2 separate regions of the Homo sapiens genome follow, and region 1 is linked to region 2. The links are contacts of gene promoters, found by promoter capture Hi-C in blood cells and fetal thymus (Javierre and others, 2016). All regions are on one chromosome and are shown on one strand. Each heading gives the region's core, a stretch centred on a gene start or on the middle of the fragment in contact. The rest is flanking DNA. Distances are from core to core; before and after follow the strand shown. Region 1 has its middle 410 kb from the start of HAS2. Region 2 holds the start of HAS2 (hyaluronan synthase 2).

Evidence for each region. Contacts are between HindIII fragments. The CHiCAGO score rates a contact against its expected background, and 5 or more counts as called.
Region 1: a fragment that was not itself captured here is called in contact with the fragment with the promoter of HAS2 in region 2 in 1 of 17 cell types (monocytes); the score reaches 5.6 in monocytes.

The regions. Positions count from the first base shown.
Region 1 is chr8:121,229,187-121,232,044 of GRCh38, reverse strand. No RefSeq gene overlaps it. Among named protein-coding and RNA genes, the nearest start is that of HAS2, 410 kb to the left of the region's middle. The HindIII fragment of the contact is 2,678 bases long and covers 204-2,858 here.
Region 2 is chr8:121,639,857-121,642,907 of GRCh38, reverse strand. It overlaps HAS2 (hyaluronan synthase 2), which reads left to right and starts at 1,468. Exons shown (of 4, transcript NM_005328.3): 1 at 1,468-2,055. It also overlaps HAS2-AS1. RefSeq lists enhancers at 186-809, 3,011-3,051. The HindIII fragment of the contact is 9,649 bases long and covers 1-3,051 here.

The DNA.
Region 1 (2,858 bases), core at 293-2,792, 410 kb after region 2:
CAGGCAGACAGAAAAGGTTGGAAAGACATCGAATGGATAAAGCCTTCATTACTTTCATATTCTAACTGGCTTCCTTGCTTCCAATCCTGAACACCTTTGGACATCTTTTGTACTTCTAGCAGGTATCTTTGCTGCTCTGTGCCATAGCCTTTCAGCCTTCCCTGGTTGTAGCTGCAGCTCTGGTGCACATTACAATGGAAGCTTATACTTACCTGGAGGTGACCCTTCTTCAAATACACTCTCCTCTCTTCTGCTTCCTGCCCAAGTGCCATTTCTGATGTCACAAGAGCCAATTTGACCATCCCATAATTGCATCCAGAAATACAGGGGAGTTAAGAATCACAGGAACATAATTCAACTAATGTGAAACTGAAAACAGAGGATAACTTTTCCAGCTTCCTGTCCTTTGAGTGGACAATTCAAGGTCATATCTGTACATTTCTCAAAGATTCAGGTAGGATCAAGTTCTTGTTCCCTGCCGCAGCAACCTCAATAACGCTCTCTCATTTTGCTTTTTCTCCTTCCCCATTGCACTCCCTTTACTCCCTTTCTCCTGCTTTCTGGGGTCACTTCCTAAATAAACTACTTTTACCCAAGTCATGTCTCAGGCATCACTTTGGAGGAAACCTAACTAAGAGGAAGAAGCCCAAACTAAGTTAGCATTACCAAGACATCATTCCTAAGATATAAAGGAGAGCCATCTTTAAGCAAAGCTCTGATCTCCCTCCAAGTCTCAACCCCCCAGGGGGGTCTCCATAATCTGCAGCCTCCCACACTTAATGGTTCAGCACCATCTTTGTTCCTTCATCCCTCTACCTTCACATTGTTCATAATCTGCTTTGCAGAGGAACTATTTAATTTAATGTGTGTTTTCCCCATTCAGTGGTACATTCAAGGGCAGGACTGTGCATATTCAAATTCATGACCCCAATCAACAACTAGCATACAGATTTGAACATTATAGGTGCTCAAACACTGCTGACATTGTTGTAAATACAATCTTTCATGATGCAGCATACACATCCTGAAATGAACAAGTCTCAGAAATATGGGATGATAGGATTCCAGAATAAATGGGTCATGGTTGCAATCATGATTGTAAAAAAACAGCTTTTCCATATGATACTAAATGACACACTTCTAATGAGGCAGAAAATAAATAATTTCTTAAGAAGAACTTACTGTATTTGGGGAAAAGAAAATGCTCACATGGGCCCCGAGGCTGTTAGACATTCTGAGACTCTGAGAAGAATAAAGTGTGGCAGAAAGGTTCTGGCCCAGAAAAAAAGGAAAACTTATTTTACTGTTCTGAAATAAGGGCACTACTGGATATCTATCCAGAGGAAAAGAAGTCATTATACAAAGTAGATACTTGCACACGCATTATTTATAGCAGCACAATTCACAGTTGCAAAAATGTGGAACCAACCCAAATGCCCATCAATAAACAAGTGGATAAAGAAACTGTGATATATAGGTGATGGAATACTACTCAGCCATAAAAGGAATGAATTAACGGCATTAGCAGCAACCTGGATGGGATTGGAGACTATTATTCTAAGGGAGGTAACTCAGGAATGGGAAACCAAACATCGTATGTTCTCGCTCGTAAGTGGGAGCTAAGCTATGAGGATGCAAAGGCATAAGAATGACACAATGGACTTTGAGGACTCAGGGGGGAAGGGTAGGAAGGGGGTGAGGGATAACAGACTACAAATTGGATTCAGTGGTTCAGTGTATATTGCGCAGGTGATGGGTGCACAAAAATCTCACAAATCACCACTGAAGAACTTACCAAACACCATCTGGTCCCAAAAAACCTATGGAAATGACGAATTAAAAAAAACTGAGATAAAATAAACAATAGAAATAAATAAAAATAAATAGGAGATGAAATAGAGAGGACACTGTTGAAGAGATAAGAAGGGCATGCAAGCTGATAGAACACTGTGTGGTGTGAATGTGATTTATATATCTGACCTCTCGAATATTTTGACAAAAAGTATTTTAAAGTCTCTAAAATCTTAGAGTGATTTCATTTCTTGTGGAAATAGGTAACAGAGTGATTATCGTTGTTGGTCCTGCCTGGTGTGGAATATAGCCCCTGTGTTTATAATCCCCTTCTTTATGTGCTAGGTTTTAACATACACGAACACACACACACATTAAATATATAAATATATACTTATAAACACACACACAGTGGGTCCTCGTTATTTATGAATTCCATATTTGCAAATTTATTTATTCCTAAAATATGTGTGCAAGCCCCAAATCGATACCTATTGTGTTTTCACAGCCATTCATAGACATGTAAAAAGAGGCTGTAAAAAGACTGAGCCTCCAGTCGCACATTCCCAGCTGAGGTCAAGCAAGGCGATTCTCTGCCCTCTTGTTTTACCTATCATACTGCAAACGAGTGGGGTTTTCTTGCACTCTATTTTGTGCCACATTTTCTTTACCTTTTTGTTATTTCTGTTGGTGATTTTCCTCTTTTTTTTTTTTCTTTTTTTTTTTTCTTTTGAGACAGAGTAGAGTCTTGCTCTGTCTCCCAGGCTGGAGTGCAGTGGTGCAATCTCGGCTCACTGCAGCCTCCGTCTCCCGCGTTCAAACGATTCTCCTGCCTCAGCCTCCCGAGTAGCTGGGACTACAGATGTGCACCACTACGCCTGGATAAATTTTGTATTTTTAGTAGAGACGGGGTTTCACCACGTTAGCCAGGATGGTCTCGATCTCCTAATCTCATGAGCCACCTGTCTCGGCCTCCCAAAGTGCTGGGAGGTTTTGCTTTTTAAAATGGTCCCCAAACATGGTGCTGCAGTGCTGTCCTAATCTTAAGGCTGTGATGTGTCTTTCAG
Region 2 (3,051 bases), core at 219-2,718:
TAATGCTTCCCAGAGGTGTAACCGCTGTGTGTGTGTGTGGCGTGGCGGGGGGGGGCGGGGGGAAGGGGGCGGAAACGCGCAGTACTTTGCAGGTCAGCCCCTGGGGACTGGGATGGCTGACTACCTGGTATTGCACTAAAATGCTTGACCCCTAATCACATCCCCCAACACTACACCTTGTGCGACGTGATGAAAGCATCATTTCCAGTTTATTCGACTTTTCTGTTTAGACTTATTCATTATAGCCCATATATGTGATAAGGACTAAGAACCCAGTCTTCAAGGTCCTGTCGAGTTCCAAAGAAGTCCACCCCTCAGAAGATCCTTGGAAGGGGAAGAAGGAAAAAAGAAAGAAAGAAAAATCTGTTTTACCCTATAACAATTTCAGCGCAATCTCCCAAGACCAAGTTGGTTAATTTGTAAAGTCACTCTCATTTTTTCCTCAACAGTGCCACCTACTGTCCATTTTCAGTCATCAGCAGGCTTGTTGGCAAGGTCCAAGAGAAAGAAAGGAGGCGGAGTGGTGGGGGGAGGAGTAACCAAAAAACGAACTCTACCCAGCCTTGGGGCATTGTGAAAACGACGAGGAAAGGCCATCTCCAAGCAAGACATATTTGTCCTCGTCAACTTTGCAGAAGGCTTGCAAAAAGCAAAAGCCAGTTAAGCCATTTCCTTCAAGATGGCTAAATATAAGTCCTCCAGAAAACAATTTTTATTATTTTATTTTTAATGCGCGCTGTTTGAGTATGTTTACGTTAGGGGACCAGATTGAGCAAAAATATACATATAATTACTTTTCTATGTTTTCCGCCCACCCACGGCAGAAACCTCTTTATGAGAAAGGCTTTGACACTTGACGTCAGCTCAGAAACTTTTGAGTTGGCGGGAAGAAAGGGTTAACAAGTGGTGGACCAGCGCGATCTTTTTAGAGTCCCAGCCGGCTGTCGAAGGCTCCAGGTACACACACACACGCACACACTTACACACACACACACACACGTGCACACACCCCTCCCAACTGTTCCTCCTTGGGTCGGTTACTTAGCTGAAGGGCACCATTTGGCTTTAAAACAAATTACTTCAGCGCCACAGGGAGTTTATCGCTTGGAGGGAACTTGTAACGCGGGAGTTCAGGGAAATCCAAGAGGCGAGGGCTCCCACCTCCGCCGCCAGAGGAAAGTAAGGAATCAGGTGGTGGCCCCCTATGTGTCTTGCATTTCTCTGCACACGTTAGCAATCAAGTTAATTGAATTCATTGGAGTTTAGAACCGGCCTGTAGCTCAGAGAAGGCTTTGAATGGCCAATTTCTCTCTCTCCCTCTCCCCCTCCCCGCCTCCCGCTCGCCCGCCCGCCCGCGCTCCCAGTTCCCTCCCCTCAGGGTTCCCCAGTCCACACCTCCCTCTCCACTTCCCTCACCCCCCCACTCCCTCCGCCGCCCTATTAAAACACCCACCAGCTCACTTGTTAAGACCCCCTTAAGTTGGAGGAGGCAGAAGGGCAACAACGGCGGGGAAGGAGAAGTCAAGACGTCTGGAAAGAATTACCCAGTCCTGGCTTCGAGCAGCCCATTGAACCAGAGACTTGAAACAGCCCCAGCCAAAGACTTTTCTCCCAATTCTGCGCTTCCTGGGTTCTGCTGAGTCTTCCACAGGCTTTTTTTTTTTTTTTTTTTTTTTTTAAGACGAAAAAGAGATTTTCTGTTATCGGGGGCAGAAAGACTGAAGCCCAAAAAAAAAAAAAAAAAAAAAAGAAAAGAAAAGAAAAAAGAAAAGTTAATTTATTTTTAAAGCATAATTTTTTTAAGAATTAGACTGAAGTGCAACGGAAACATAAAGAGAATATTAGTGAAATTATTTTTTAAAGTGGGGAAGAATCAAACATTTAAGACTCCCCTATCCTTTTTAAATGTTGTTTTTAAATTTCTTATTTTTTTTGGCCGGTCGTCTCAAATTCATCTGATCTCTTATTACCTCAATTTTGGAAACTGCCCGCCACCGACCCTCCGGGACCACACAGACAGGCTGAGGACGACTTTATGACCAAGAGCTGAACAAGGTACGTTACACTGGCGCGTTTTGGTGAAGGATGAAGGTCCTCCAACAGGCCAGGGAGAAGGAAGACATCCTTATAATTGTTTTAAAATTTTTAAGCCAGTTTCGATAGAAAAGTTGGAAGTTTAAAAATTTCCAACAGACTGAAGATCAGGGAATATTTCAGGTCACTGTCAGGCTTAGCAACATAGCCCTCTTTTCCCATTTCTGCGGCTCTCGCCAGAAATCCGCTGCCTTTCTGGGGACACAGGTAGCCTCTCTGCCTGGGAAAGGCTGCACGTCCTCAGATGTACTTTTCCATTTTGCATCTTCCGGAGCAGCAGAGGGGCTCCAGAGTTAGGAAACAAGAATTCCCAATGTAAGGAAAATGCATTCTGCACAGCCGCCCCACCCCTTCCCTTCTTTTTTTCCCACACACACACACACACACACACACTGTGGGGAGAAAAACTGGAATAGCCCAGCGCGTTTTACTTCTAAGTGAAAAAGTCGCTTCTTGCTGGGAATGCAAAGGGTTAAGCAATCTGGGCTTCCAGCTCCGACAAGCTGGGACCCTGGAGAAGGAGGGTCCTTCTCTACCTCCTCGCAGCTACCATCCCCTCTCGGCCACTCCCCCCTTTCCCGGGCCTCCCCTCCTTTGCACTTCCCGCACCCCATTAAAGTGTCAGGCTCGTCAGTCTGGGCTTACTCGGGCCAGGGGTCCCTGACGCAGGCGGTGGCACCCGCAGATAGGAGCGGGAGGAGGGCGCGCATCCCTCCTCTCCTCGCCGGGCCAGCCCGCCGGCCGCCCGGAGGCAGGGCGTGCGTGGGGACCGCGCGCTGCGCTTCGGCAGCTGCGGCGTCCCCAGAGCCAATTCCGACGTGGCACCGCGCACGCCGGCGCTTCTCTCCTCAGCTGCAGCTGGGGACACTGCCCGGTGGGAGATCTGGGGGCGCCGTCTCGAGCGCCCAGCCGATGAACGGGGCGAGGGGCCTGTGGGAGCTGGGGTGGAGGTGGGAG